Regions from separate parts of the Homo sapiens genome. Here regions 2 and 3 are each linked to region 1. Evidence: promoter capture Hi-C in 16 types of primary human blood cells and fetal thymus (Javierre and others, 2016). All regions are on one chromosome and are shown on one strand. The core of a region is centred on a gene start or on the middle of the fragment in contact, and the rest is flanking DNA. Distances in the headings are between cores, read along the strand shown. Region 1 holds the start of STARD6 (StAR related lipid transfer domain containing 6). Region 2 overlaps WDR7 (WD repeat domain 7). Region 3 overlaps TXNL1 (thioredoxin like 1).

Region 1 (5,164 bases), core at 910-3,409:
CAGCCCAAAAGGACTGAGACAGGCACTGTGGTAGATGTAGCAACAACAGTTGAGTAAGATACTAGACATAACTATTACTGCTGTGAATGAGTTCCGGAAGCTGCAGTCTCACTGGTCCTTCGGGTCATCATCCAGCTTTCAGTTAGGGGAAGCTGGCAGGTAAGGTGAAAACAGAACTGGATTCAAATCCTGACTTTGTCACTTAGTACAGCTATATTATTTTGGATAAATTGCTTAACCTTTGAACTTCAACTTCCATATCTATAGAATGGGGATAATAATATCTATCTCACCGAATCATTATAAGGATTAGTTGAGTTAATATATGTAAAAATGCTTTAAACAGTGTGGAGCCCTATACTAGGTTATCAAAATAGTTAGTTTCTCTTTAAAAAAATGGACACATATAAATCCATCATTTAAAAAACTCTCCAAAGATCTGCTTCCTTAAGCACTTAAATAAACCTTCTTAAAGTTTAATTATTGGAACATTTCTTCCTTAGCTCTCACTTAAAACTCTTCAGGTTGGATCATAAATCTATTTTCTCTTATTTAATTCTCCAGCAAGGCACAACAGGTAGTTGATAGTCTCTATATTTGAAAAGTTTTAGTAAACCATTATTATAACCTCCTCTTTCCTAGCAGAGTCCTGGTTTCTTTACCTTTCCTGACAGATCTAATGCAGAATTTTAGTAACTACTGGGGCTCCTCTCCAAATCCTTGTGGAAATCTCCATATCTCTTAACCTGTGAGGAAACAAGGCAGAAGTAGAATTATTTTGATCCATGAATTAGGTCAATATATTTGATAATTTTCTTTATATCTTCTCAGTGTCCTTTATCTATACTTTGTCTTCATTAGGAAACATTTGCTACATATATGCCCCAAGATGAAAGAAAAATATAGTACAAAAAACTTTAAAAGATACTGTTTATAAAAAGAATCTTTAAGAAACTATTTTAAAGGAACTCAGTTTAAAAAGACACTTAGGTGGAACGTGGATACAAAAATTTAAGTTTTTAAGCTTACGTCACTAACAATTAACAAGGATTGTTAATCCCCGACCAGGGCTCGTCTTAGCATATAAAACACCGTTCTTGATTTCCTATTGGAAACCTACTTGATATTAATTGATCTAGAGACTTTGAAGATTATTGGGACATACCACTAGCAGGGTATGTCTTATTTTCAAATCACCAACTATTACTGCCACAATAGACCTGTGTTTAACCACTAAACTGAACGTTATAGCTTCCGGACTTTTTCATTTGCTAAGAGAAAAGGGAAGGTAAAATTTAGTAGGCTACAAAGGGTAAAAAGAAGAAAGTGCAAACAGTAAGACTACAATTGTATTACATGGTGGTGGAACGTCGGATGAGCTGGAACATATTCAGATGGACTCATGGTCAAGGATATCTTCACTCATAGGGTCAGTGGAAAATAAACATAAACCAACATTGGGATGGCCTCTTTTTTTGATACACCAATTGGTTGAAACTGGATTCCTTCCAGACTTACAGACAGGTTCACACATGTTAGTGAGTCTTTACATCTGTTTGTACAATGACCCTCTTTCTGAGCTGCCTGACTGGGTCCCCAATCCGTGCGGGGTCACTGCCATTCTTCCCTGGGAATCAAGGCTTCCTAGGAGTTTGTTAAATCCCATCCCTGGCTAAACTCGGGTCTCCAATCTCCCATCTGCTTTGTGTGTGAGAGGCTCCGGGGTGTGAGAGGAAAGGCACTGAAGAGGGAGTGAAAGAAGTGGTGAGGGGGGACTGCCTACTAGCTGAGACGATATCTTATTTTTGGCGGGGGATGCTCTGGAAGCGGGGAGGCTGAACTCACTTGGAAAAACTGGAGCTGTGGGGCAGACTCTCAGCGACCGGAACGACAGCCGCCAGCGCCCTTAAGTCTCCCTCCCCACCCAGTCCCCTCCCGCAGACCCCGGGGCCGGCTGAAGGGAGATCAGCAAGTCCCCGCGCAAACTGGCCGAGAATAGCTGTGACGGAGGTTGGAAGGGCGTGGGGGGCAGCGACTTGGATGCAGCCCACATCCCCCCATTCCCAGCCCCAGAAAGGAGGGAGAAACAGCACCTTCCAGCAGGGGTCGCGACCTAACGCTCAACAGCATCCTCTCTTCTCCGGCCGCTCCCTCATCTCCGCTCGCGCCCGGCGCCCCACTGCCGCGCATGCGCACCGCAGGCCGGCGCCATGTTGGGGCGGTTTGAAAGCGAGCGCGGGTGTCGAGCTCTGCTGTGACTGCGGAGGAAGCTGCGAGTGAGCCGAGCCTGAGGCGGGGCGGTGTCCGGGTTGGGGATGCTTTGTGGTGTCTCGCGTTGGGTAACAGGCCTGAGCTTTCGGCGGAGAGCTGTGGAAGTGTGCGGTTTTTGTTTTTGTTTTCCTTTATTTTTATTTTGGGGCCTTAGGGGTGAGTTAGGACGGAAAGGAGGGTGTCTTTTCGAGGGTTGTCCCATCCTGTGACAGCCGAGAAAAGGCGAAAGGAGAGTGGCGAGGAAAGAGGAGGAGACGTCTCCTGAGGGAGGGCGCTTGTGGAGTCTCTGTGGAAGGAAGAACACTGTAGGGGGAGTGCCCCCTGGGCGAGGGAGGGTCGCGGGACGCGGCGGAGGGGGCTCACACGGGCGTCTGCGGACCTGAGGCGGCGACAGGAAGGGGCTTGCGCTCTGGGGCTGTCGCTTCGGAACACTTCTCCTTCAGTCCATTGCTGCGCTCGCCCTGGCTGCTGAATAAATGGTTTCGGAGTGAAAAGCATCTCACTGAAGAACTTGTCTGTGTCTGTGACTGACGGGCGGTGGAACACCAAAGGGAGGGTGTCGCCTGATTGGGACTGGAAAAATTGGAATTCAGGGCGCCCGGGGTAGGGGAACGATGCGCACTGCTGGAGACGGGCGACCTTCGCTGGCCGGTCGGTGGGTTCCTGGTTTTCTGCTGCCGAGTAAACAAACGTTCCCTTTCCTAACTTAGCAGTCACAGAGCTATTTCCAAGAGTTGTTCTTAATTTCCTGTGCGATATTCCCATTGGCTATTTAACACTGAACATTCTGTTTTTGAATCAAAGTTAGTTAAAATTTGTTGTCAATAAGTTTAACATTCTGTTCTTCCGCGTGATGGATTTTCTTTTGGAGATTCGAACTGAAGCCTGTACGGAGGAAATGGTAAGATATATGGGATTTGCATGAGATATGTGGGGTTCAAAATAATCCTGTGGCTGAAGTGGGGAGAAGTGGGTGGGTCCCTACCCACTTTAGCTACAATTGGGGTCTGTTCAGCGATTGTTGGAAGCAGGATGATGAGTACATAGGGGTTTATTGAACGATTCTACTTTTGTATACTCTTTTGGGGAAAAGTTGGAAAACTTTTCATAATGAAACTTAAATTGTGCATTTTCTTTTTGTCTGTCCTGTGAGTTGAAATAACTAGTAAATGTTATCACCCACTTACGGAGACCAATACAACAGCTTTCTCTTTCAAGGTTTTGTAAAATAAAATCAGTAGCCTGTTCGGCATTCAAAGACAGAAAACATTTGGTCAGGCTTATCCAAACAAATTTACTTGAGTGAGTTTAAACTTCTTTAAATAAAAGGGATACGAAAAAGGTAAAGCTGGCTTAGTTTAGCCATTCGTCAGAGATATACCAGTATTACAGAATTCAGATAAATCAATGAGACGAAACAACTGTTACCTTATGTTCTGCCATTTGCACTGACCACGGTCAGATCTCTTGTAATGGCCATTGCATGCTCTAACGCTGTGGTAGGATGATGTTTTACTTTGTCTCTTATTTAATTAGAAAACTTTCGATGTTTTAAAGCCAAATTTAATAGTTACTAAGATTACATTAAAAGTTGTTATAACAAATATTTCTAAAATTATAGCCAAAAATTAAACATTATAACATCATAGCATATGTTAAGTCCTCAACATTAATACTTTTTTAGTATAGGAAATCCATTCATTTAATTTTAAAAAGAATGTCATCATGGACTGAATTAGTGCCGGTTCGTTCTGTGATTTCTTAGGTTTTCAAATATACATCCTGTTACTGTACTGAGGTAGACAGGGATTCTCTCAATTTTAATAATGGAAAAACAGAAGAACACATTGAGTTGATTTTCACATTATTTAAGCTTCCTTTGAAAGAGGTGAGCTGAATCCATTTAACATAAGAATTGAAAATAGGGAGGGTGGTACCAAAAACGAAGGTCAGGAAATGATTAACTATTTTAGGAAAAGTGTATATTGCTAACTCATTCCAGAATAAGACCTGCAGTTTATTTACAGTTAAATGTTGTAAATGTACTAGCATTTATAACATTGAAAGTGAATATTCTCCATTGTTCTTGTTTTGAATACTTCATTTGATGGCTTTAAAAAATTTATTGAGCGCTATTATCTGCAGCACATGGTAGTAGGCTTATGATTTGAAAAATATGATGTATAGGGGAATATTAGGTATTGTGATGTCATAGAATATATCACCATAAGAGAAAAGAGGTTCATAAGTAGTTTTTAGGACTTTTTAAGAAGTGAGTACTCTCTCCTTGGTATTTTCCATGTATATTCTCAGATAATTTTTGTATACATACTTCCAGCCACATAGTAGGTACTCAAAAAATGTTTTCTAAATCATTGATGAAGGAATTCACAATAATAAATATAACAAAAATCTACAATTCCTAACAAGGAGTGTCTGTTATAGATAATGGATTTTATTATTTAAAGAAAATTACAAAAGGTTTACATATTTAGTAATTTTGTTTGTGTATGGTCACTTTTAATTGGCATCTTAACATTTCGTTTTTGTATTACAGTTGTTTTTAAGGGAAATGAATAGAAACAATCCACTTTGAAGAAGCCATGGCGAAATCAAAGACAAAACATAGACTTTGTTCTCAGGAATCTTCAGTATCTGCCCTGCTGGCAAGCTGCACCCTGAGTGGTAGTAATTCCTCTAATTCTGATGGCTCGTTTCACTATAAAGATAAGCTGTACAGATCTGCTTCTCAAGCTCTACAGGCTTATATTGATGATTTTGATCTAGGCCAAATATATCCTGGTGCAAGCACTGGAAAAATTAACATTGATGAGGATTTTACTAATATGTCACAGTTCTGCAACTATATTTACAAACCAAACAATGGTATGCT
Region 2 (5,164 bases), core at 67-2,566, 2.3 Mb after region 1:
CGTTGAATAGTCTGGTTAACTGATATTTAGCTTTTACCTGATACGGATTATTTTAAAGAATTAAAATGTAAGAAAATTAAAAAATCTGAAGGTACCCTTTAAGATATAAAATTTTGAAATAATTCAGGATTGTGTAGTTCTGAAGGGTTATTGAGAACAGTTGAGGAAGTAATGTGTTTAAATGTTCCAAGAAATATAAGCTTACATTTTAGAAGGAGGATAAGGTAAGTATTTAAGCCTGGTACAGGCAGACTATAAATCACAAATGTTTTGGTGATGATGGCAAGGGCGTATTATAGGTACCCAGAGAAACAAGGAGCTTTGGTAAACTACTTGAAAAGACCTGAGAGGTTTGACTAACTACATATTGACTTCTTGAGAGGTGTTGGAATCTGTGGTTTTGAGGTTTCTAATATTAGGTTATTTGCCATTTCTGTTTTTTTAAGAGTATATAAAGGTTCAGTTTCTTGATAAAACAAACTACTATATATCATTTGCTTGAAATAAAGCTGTTCACAGTATAAAAATTATATGACAGATATAAAGTCCTATACCATTTTTATCATTCCAAGTTATGTTTATTATTTTTAAATGAGTGGTTTTCTCATGATTTATTGCTATTCAGATGTGACAGTTCTTATGAATTTTAATAGGATTCAAATTTAAACTCGAGCTTTTTATGTTGTTATTAAATTATATTGCCACTTCAAATATTAGATATAGGAGATGTATTAGAAACTTTTTTTTAAAAACAGCTAAAATTTAAACTGGGCTATTAACTTTTCATCTGTACTTGGACTGTTTACTATGGTACCTTAAAATATTTCATAAATAGGTAGTGATGCACATAGTATAAAATGCAAAAGGTATAAATATTACTAAGGAAGTGCAAGTCTCCCTTTCTCTCCTGTTCTCCAGCTTTTTGGTTCCCTTAACCTTGAGTGCAATGTCTTATTAATCCTTCAGATATTTTCAATTTTACAGTGTTTTAATGCTTCAGAACTATAGAATATTAGCTTAATTTTATTCTGACAACTACAAAATTTACACAACACAGCGTGGTTAGAGAGAGAATGATTTTCAGATTGGAGTAGTTGTGAGAGGTAGACTTGGGTGAATTAGCAAAATCTGAACTCTGGGATAGGGGAGGCCAAGAGTGTACCAGTTGCCTGGGGAATCTGAAGAGAGCTGGTGAAAGGGAAGGCAGATATTTTTAATGCCTTTGGAGTGCTGCGGCAGGAAACTTCCTCCAACGCTCCATCATTAGAATTATGTAGTTACAGATGAGATGATCTGACATCGTCCCTTCCACCTCCCTCCCAGTTTATTTTACCTTTCCCTGTTGCTTATCGTTCTCCTTTTATTATAGATTTTAGCTTTAAAGAGTCTATTGTCCAAGATCCAGGCACTTTTTCTTGTATTTCCACATAGGTTACTCTTAGAGAAAGAAACTAGGTTTTGGAAAAAATACTGAGGGAATAAAATTATTTTAATATATCAAGAGTACGTTATAAAACATTTTCCTTAACAAACCAGATAGATATGATTGACAGCAGTGAAAATTCATGAATTAAAAAATAACACTAATCACCCAGTATAATATTGCCAACTTATTGAATTGTGGTGATATTTTACATGAAACTATCCATATTTTCTTAGTTGATTTTCAATTGTGGTAGGTAGCTGGATTTAGAAGTACAGTTTGTGGTATGAAACCTTTGTGTGTGTAATACAGTGTGATACCATTTATTTACATTTTAAAAACACAAATCCATACTGCATATTTTTGGATACATGTATAGGTAGTAAAAATATTAAAACCGAAGGGAAAGCTAGTGCCAAATTCAGACCCTGGTTTACTTTTGAGAGTGAGAGGAAGGAGTAGGGAAACTTATTAAAGTGTCATGTTTTATTTACTTTTAGTATTATAGCTATTTAATATTTACTATTTATTTTCCTCATTTACATTGACGATTAAATTCTCAGAGCTGTCTTTCTGTTGTTAGAATTATTCAGAACAGAAGTTTTCGAAAATGCCGAAAAATAAACTGTTTAGTACCAGTGATATGTTTCTACATGTAAGCATATAGGCTAAGTTCTTTAATATATTAGTTAAAGAATGAATACTTTTTGTTTAATTTATCATATTAAACTTTTGGTCACGTAATCTCCAAAAATACCCAGAAGGGGGCAGCATGGATTTGTGAAAACAGGAATGTGCGTCATCTAACCTGAACACTAGTGTTTGTGCCTTCAATTGACAGTATTAAAACCAGTATTAGATTCCCGGCTCCTAGAAACAGGTATGCTAATATGAATGGAACACGTGACTGTGTGTATACCAGTGTGGCTAATGTTCACAGCCAGTAAGGGCAATTGACAAATTAGATATTCTTTTTAATATATCATACTATTATTCTGACAAAGTACTGAAAGCTTTTGCCTGAATTTGCTCTTATCTCCCATTTTTGATTCTAGATTTTTGTTATTAATTTAATTTGAATATTGCATTTAAAAAGCAATGTCTATACCTATAGCTTAATATCTGAAGTCAAGCAGAGCAAACTTTGTGAATACAAACTAAGCAAAAACAGGAAGCAGAACTAACATTATTTTCTTAAAATACAATGTACATAATGTTCTGTGTCATCCTTTTTCCTTTAACACTTAATTCTCTTTGATTTTGAGAACATTTTCATATATTTTTATGTATTTGGCACCATCTTTTTGATATTAATTTTATTTTTAAAAATTAAATAATACATAGTTATAGAAAATAGAGATATTTTCTAAAGACATCATATTTGTCACTAAGAATATTCCTACAACATCATTTTAAATGATACTCTGTAATTCATTTTTATTGGACATTTTAGAATGTTGCTTTAAAGTTTTTTTTTTTGCCTGTTATCAACGGTGGGAATGATAATTAGTACAGCTAAATATTTTTGTAGCTCTAGAATGGTTTCTTAGGATAAGTTCTTATACTTGGAGTTGCTATAAAAAAGGGCATATTAATTTTTAAAGGCTTTTGAACAGGTATTGTCAAATTGCTCTTCAAACAATGAGGAATAGGTTTGTACAGTCACCATTTTACTACCGTAATCCTTCATCATCCTGTTTATAATCTTTTAAGCCTTGCTAATTTTCTAGTCTTGAAAGCAGCTGTATGTAGAGCATATGTAACTATAGCTCTCACGTTCATTTTAAAGCACAAATGTATTAATATTACCAATACTATATTAGTTGTACATTCTGGTTGGTTTTATATTCTTGATAATTTTATGTTTTCCAAATTTGTACTACTATTCTATACTATTGTTTAAAGATAAAAAGTTGAGGCTGAGCATGGTGGCTTACACCTGTAATTTCAACAATTTGAGAGGTCAAGCTGGGAGGATCACTTGATGCCAGGAGTTCAAGACCAGCCTGGGCAACATAGTGAAACCCTGTCTCTATCAAAAAAGAAAAAAAAAAAGCTGGGTTTGGTGACATGGGCATATAGTTCTAGCTACTTGGGAGGCTGAGGTGAGAGGATTGCTTGAGCCCTGGAGTTCAAGGCTGCAGTGAGGCATGATTGCGCCATTACACTCCAGCCTAGGTGACAGAGTGAGACCCTGTCATGCTATGAATATTATGTATACATTCAAATATTAGGTTGTGCAAGTAATTTTTGTTATTTTAATGGCAAAACTGCAATTTAATGTCTTACACCTGTCTCTTGTGTAGGAGGCCAGAAAACTCAGTGCTAAGGGACTGGCAGTGAGAGGCCCCTTTAACAGTAATGAGAAAGACTGCATCCTTAGCTGACTGTGCTGATATCATGCCAAACATTTTAAAAAATTAGAAATTCTTACATTTTGGAAAGATTCCTTAAAATCTTAAATCATATTGCTGATTAGGCATGAAATTTACTTTTAATAATGGTCAGAAGTGATTTCATGCTAAACCTAGTGAATGAAGTAGCTGATTAAATTGACTTTTTATTTTGGACTGGAGAGAAAGTATTACACAACAACTAATTTTTCTTGAGTAACACAATCATAGGACAATTTCAAAATGAGTTTACATTTCATTTTTTTAATTTAATTTTTGTTTTTTAGAGATGAAGTCTTGCTATGTTGCCCAGGCTGGCATTGAACTCCTGGCCTCAAGTGATCCTCCTATCTTGGCGTCTTAAAGTGCTAGGATTACAGGTGTGAGCCACCATGCACTGCTCTCTATATTTTTAAATGGCAAAAATTGCTAGGAAGAAATGAATTACCTTTTAAGTGTAGTATTCAGTTTGGTGCAACATATTTTTGATTAGACATTCATTGGGCAAATATCTGACTATCTGCCATATTTCAGGCACTTTCTAGAACCAGAGATAGGGATAAGATATCTTTTTTTTTTTTGTAATATTTAGTCTAATGAGGGAGCCAGACCAGCAAACAGCAGTTATAAAGGAGTATGATAAATCTTATGGAAAGGGGTTTTTCAAAGCCCTCAGGGAGTACATAGGGCACTTAGGAAGTCTACTTTGGGTGATTTTGGAAGACTTTAAGGAAGGTCAATATATATGATATTTGAATATATTAGTTTTGTGGATATTTATAAAATCATAAATGATACATTAACAACCTCTGTTTGCAGATGCTCTTAGCATTATGCATGTTATGTGGAGGTGTCTGGAACAATTGATGTTTTCCTGACTAGTACCTGATGGATCTGTCTACAATAGATAGTACTTGATAATACTTGGATTTAGGCGGATCCTGGCAGGAATTGGACATACATACATTACTTTGAAAATAATGACTGGCCTGGCACGATGGCTCACGCCTGTAATCCCAGCATTTTGGCAGGCTGAGGCTGGCAGATCACAAGGTCAAGAGATCGAGACCATCCTGGCCAACATGGTGAAACCCCATCTCTATTAAATACAAAAAAAATTAGCTGGGTGTGGTGGCGCGTGCCTATAGTCCCAGCTACTCGGGAGGCTGAGGCAGGAAAGTCCCTTGAACCTGGGAGGTGGAGGTTGCAGTGAGCTGAGATTGCGCCACTGTACTCCAGCCTGGGCGACAGAGGGAGATGCCGTCTCAAAAACCACAACAAAAAGAAAATAATGACCAACAGATCAGAGTGATGGTTTTGTATGTGCTGCAGTCTAGCTGCAATAGGA
Region 3 (5,164 bases), core at 770-3,269, 2.3 Mb after region 1:
GCCCCTCCCAAAGTGCTGGGATTACAGGCGTGAGCCACCAAGCCGGTCTTTTTTTTTTTTTTTTTTTTTTTTGGAGACAAGGTCTCATTCTATAACCCAGGCCAGAGTACAGTGGCATGATCATGGCTCACTGCAGTCCCAATCTTCCAGGCTCAAGCAATCCTCCCACCTCAGCCTTCCAAGTAGCTGCAACTACAGGTGCATGCCACCACACCCAGCTACCAAGCTACATTTTTTTTTTTTTTGAGAAGCAGGGTCTCACTATATTGCCCAGGCTGGTCTCAAACTCCTGGGTTCAAGTGATCCTCCTGCCTTGGGCCTCCCAAAGTGCAGACATTACAGGCATGAACCATAACCCTAGGCCTGATTCTCTGGTCTATTTGAGTAAGTTATTTACATATACTTGTATCAATACTATACTGTCTTAATGAGCCCAGATGTTACATTTAGTCTTCATAACTAATAGTGTTAAGTCTTCTAGCTTTGTTCTCACTGAGAGAAATTAAAGAAAACCTAAATAAATGGAGGAATTTACTCTGCTTATGAATTTGAAACTCAATATTGCCAAGATACCAATTTTACTCAATTTGATCTTTACAACTGATGTAAGATCTCAGCAGGTTTTCTTGTAGAAATTAACAAATTTCCATTCTAAAAATTATAGAGAAATGCCAAGGACAGCCCAAGTCGTTTTGAGGTTCTAATCTGAAAAAATTATATTATCAGATCTTAAGAACTATCATAAACCTTTATTAAGAGAATATAGTACTTGTACAAGAATAAGCAAAATGATCAAATCAGTTTTCCTTTGAAAGAAGAGTCTAGAAACAGACCCATCTCACATACAGTACTCTGATGTCTGAAAAACTTGATGTAGCATTGCAGTGGGAAAAGGATGGTCTTTTCAATAAATACTGCTAGATCAACTATATACTCATACAGGAAAAGAAATGAATCTCAACACACCATACACAAAAACCAATTCCAGATGGGTTGTAGATCTAAATGTAAAAGGTGAAACAAGGAGGGTTTTAGGAAAAAATACAGGAAGACACTTTCAAAACCTCAAACTAAGCAATGATTTCTTATACAAAACACAAGAAGTACTAAAAAAAAAAAAAGGTTTGACAGACTGGACTATATTTGATAAACTGGAAGATTAAAACCTTTTATTCATCAAAAAATGTCTTTAAGAGACTAGGAAAAAGTATTTGCAAAACATATCAAACAAAGGACTTATACTTCTAATACGTAAAGAACTCCTACAAAACAAGGAGAAGACTGAAACCCAAAAGAAAAAGAATGAACCCTTGAATAGGTACTTGACAAATGAGATTATCCAAACAGTCAATAAATAAAGTCAAAAACTTTCTATAAAGCAGGAAAGATGTTCTACTTCATTAGTCATCAGGGATACCCGGGAAATGCAGATTAAAACCAACTCAGCAAAAATAGCTACAAGAAGAATTAAGTATTGTCAAGAATGCAGAGCAACTAAACTTTTATATACTGTGAGAGTGCAAGCTGGTATTAACCATTTTGGAGGGAAAAAAACCAAACTGCTAAAATACACCAACCCATCAAAATTCCTGGGGAATACATCTAAGACACATGTTCACCTTAGAACATTTGAAAAAGTATTATTAGTAATAGTTCTAAGAGTCAAAAATCAGAAACAATTAAATTCTTATCAACAAAAGAATGGGTAAGCTAATTATAGTTATACAATGAAATACTACACAATAATGAAAATAACTGGTATAAAACCTCTTGCAAAAACATGGATGAACCTCACAAATAACATTGAGGAAAGAAAGCAACTACTAGCATATACTATATGACTACATACAGTTCAAATACAGACAAAACCAATCAATGGTATCAGAAATCAAGACAATGGTTACCTTAGTGAGTTACTGATAGAATAAGACTTCTGGAGGCTAGCAATGTTTTGTTTGTCTGGAAGCTGATTAAATAGGTGTGTTCAGTTTGTGAAAATTAATTGAACTATACATTTCTAATTGTGTGCCATGTATGTCTCAATAAAAGTTTGCAGAAATAAGAAATGCAAGAAAAAGCAAATCTAATGCACAAAATAAAAACAAATGTTAAAACTCAAGTTGTGATCAACTCCACATTCTTAACATTTCAATCAGCATTTCACCTTGTGTTATCCTGAAAGCCATACACCAAAAATCTAAGAAAATAATATTTACAGTCAACTAAAATTAGTCTTAAACTTTATAAATGGGAATATATATCACTACACTGTTTTTCAAAGGCCACTGATTGGGTCATATCTATTCATTTTAGATGAACACAAGCCAAGACCCAATAATTGCCCTTTTGAAAGTCTATTCCATTTTAACAACACTTACTCTATTTCACAATAACATGTAGTATAAGGAAGTTCAATGTAACATGTTTGTAATAGTAAAGTTAGAAAACAACTTAAATGGCAATTAATGGAAAACTAGTTTAAAAAGTTATGACAGGGGCCAGGCACGCTGGCTCACGCCTATAATCCCAGCACTTTGGGAGGCCAAGATGGGCGGATCACTTGAGTCCAGGAGTTCTAGATCAGCCAGGCCAACATGGTGAAACCCCATCTCTACTAAAAATACAAAAATTAGCCAGGCATGGTGGCGCATGCCTGTAATCCCAGCTACTCAGAAGGCTGAAGCAGGAGAATCACTTGCACCCGGGAAGCGGAGGTTGCGGTGAGCCAAGATCACACCACTGCACCCCAGCCTGATACTTTGCAGTGTTTAGGGGGGAAGAAAGTCTCATTATAAAATGTTCTCTAGGATCACATTTCAAACCTATGTATATATATAAATGCATAGGGGGTAAAAAGACAGAGACAGGCACAATGAACAGTTAGTATCCATAATTCTGCATCCTTTGCTTTTTTGTGATGAATAGGTATTTTCATTTTAAAATATTAAATGAGTTGAGAAGAATTTAGTGTTAACTGCATTTACACAGGTGTCACAAATTACAGAGGTATCCATTCTATAGTACAATATATCCATTCATGAAAACCACCCTCCTGCAAAAACACACACCAAAAAGAGAGAATTTATGGGAAAAATAAGTTTGTTGGCAAACTACTTGAAACCCATGCAATTTTGTAACAAGATCAGTAAGAAAGATAGTAACCAGACTGGGCCCGATGATGGCTCATGCCTGTAATCTCAGCACTTTGGGAGGCCAAGGCAGGTGGATCACTTTAGGGTGGGAGTTCAAGACCAGCCTGGCCAACAAGGTGAAACCCCATCTCGACTAAAAGTACAAAAATTAGCCAGGCGTGATAGCGGATGCCTATAGTCCCAGCTATTCGGGAGGCTGAGGAAGGAGAATCACTTGAACCCGGAAGGTTGTAGTTAAGCCAAGGTCACCAAGATCGTGCACTCCAGCCTGGGCAACAGAGCAAGACTCCAACTTGGAAAAGAAAAAAAAAAAAAAAGACAGTAACTAGGATTCAGGAAAAAGATGGACATCCCAGCATGTGGCTCAGAGCTGGAAGCGACCTTGGGGAATATTTGAAAAGAACAAAATCAACTGGAAATGATGCTTACAGGTGTTGTGACAAAGCAGACTGAAGTGGAGCTCTGAGCCAGTGGGGCTGCCATTAAGGAAGGGACAGGAGAAAATGCAACACTGAAAATAAACCCTTCTGGGGAACAAACGCTAGGTGTAGGCACTCTTATTTAACTTCATTAACTTTCTTAAAATAAACAAGAGAGGGAATTTGCCTGTGTGGCTGAGAGCTTTCTGCTTCCAGATGAAGGTTTTATTTCTATTTTTCACTACCTAGGAATAATCACACATGAACCAATACAACTTCCATATCACATTGACATCTCTCTATTCATCAATTATTTACGAGCTAACTGGTGTTACAGACACACATCTTGCAGCTGAACAGACTATTAAAATTATGGTTACTGTGCAAAAAACTGTTTCAAGATTTAACTTTATCTAGATTCTTTAATTTCAGTTAGCCATCAGAGGTTGGAACTTTGGTCAAAAATCAAAATGCATCAGCAGAGAAGCATAAATATATACAAACTCACAAATATATACAGCAGCACACTTTCACAAAACAATCATTCAAATAAATCGATCATTTTCTTTTTTCTTTTTTTTTTTAGGGTTTCACTCTGTCACCCAGGTTGAGTGCAGTGGCATAATCATGGCTCACTGCAGCCTCATTCCCTCAGGCTCAAGTGATCCTTCCACCTCAGCCTCCCAAGCAGCTGAGACTACAGGCACGTGCCACCATACCCTGCCAATTTTTGATGTTTTGAAGACACGAGGTCTGCCTATGTTGCCCAGGCTGGTCTCAAACTCCTAGACTCAAGTGATTCTCCCACCTCAGCCTCCCAAAGTACTGGGATTACAAGTGTGAGCCACTGTGCCCAGCCAATTGATCATTTTACATAAGATGTCTGTCTCCTTAACAGGAGCAGTTGAGAGTAAACAAATTTCCATTAGCTGAGATCATGAACAAGTCACCTGATTTCTCTGTATAAAATAAAAGGACTCTCCAAGGACTTTTCCCAGCTCTACAATATTATGCACCCAGTATGCTTGAATTTCAGAATTACACCTTTTTCTCTTGCACACACCTTGATTAGCTGCCCTTTGCACAATCTACGATTTCTTATTTCACTGCAAAAGGTTCAAGAGATCACCTAGTCCAGACATTTAAAATGAAGAAAAAAAAAAAGTTACTTTTCTACTCTAAACCTTCTGACTGAAAACTTATCTGCTTAGTCCAATATATAAAATGTGTATGTTAGAAGGATTTTGAGTTATGCTGTTTGAGAAAAAGAATACAGTAAACCGCTAGCTTTCTACAATGTATAAAGAAATAAACCCAGCCGGGCGCAGTGGCTCACGCCTGTAATCCCAGCACTGTGGGGAGGCCAAGGCTGGTGGATCACCTGAGGTCAGGAGTTCGAGACCAGCCTAACCAACATGGTGAAACCCCCGTCTCTACTAAAAATACAAAATTAGCTGGGCCTAGTAACGCATGCCTGTAATCTCAGCTACTTGGGAGGCTGAGGCAGGAGAATCGTTTGAACCTGGGAGGCAGAGGTCACAGTGAGACGAGATTGCGCCATTGAACTCTAGCCTAGGCAAAAACAGCGAAACT

The links. The method cuts DNA at HindIII sites, captures the fragments that hold promoters and counts their contacts. A CHiCAGO score of 5 or more calls a contact.
Region 2: a contact is called between a fragment that was not itself captured here and the fragment with the promoter of STARD6 in region 1, in 1 of 17 cell types (total B cells). The highest score is 5.5, in total B cells.
Region 3: a fragment that was not itself captured here is called in contact with the fragment with the promoter of STARD6 in region 1 in 2 of 17 cell types (total B cells and fetal thymus); the score reaches 5.4 in total B cells.

What each region holds. Positions count from the first base shown.
Region 1 is chr18:54,355,699-54,360,862 of GRCh38, forward strand. It overlaps STARD6 (StAR related lipid transfer domain containing 6), which reads right to left and starts at 2,160. Exons shown (of 8, transcript NM_139171.2): 1 at 2,094-2,160; 2 at 663-746. C18orf54 (chromosome 18 open reading frame 54) reads left to right here and starts at 2,208. Exons shown (of 9, transcript NM_001288980.2): 1 at 2,208-2,377; 2 at 3,076-3,172; 3 at 4,829-5,157. The coding sequence starts at 4,875. RefSeq lists enhancers at 2,712-3,223, 2,725-2,794. The HindIII fragment of the contact is 3,120 bases long and covers 1,023-4,142 here.
Region 2 is chr18:56,700,915-56,706,078 of GRCh38, forward strand. All of the region lies in intron 12 of WDR7 (WD repeat domain 7), which reads left to right. Among named protein-coding and RNA genes, the nearest start is that of WDR7, 52 kb to the left of the region's middle. The HindIII fragment of the contact is 2,236 bases long and covers 199-2,434 here.
Region 3 is chr18:56,626,750-56,631,913 of GRCh38, forward strand. The region is part of intron 1 of TXNL1 (thioredoxin like 1); the gene reads right to left. Among named protein-coding and RNA genes, the nearest start is that of TXNL1, 9.3 kb to the right of the region's middle. The HindIII fragment of the contact is 7,386 bases long and covers 1-5,164 here.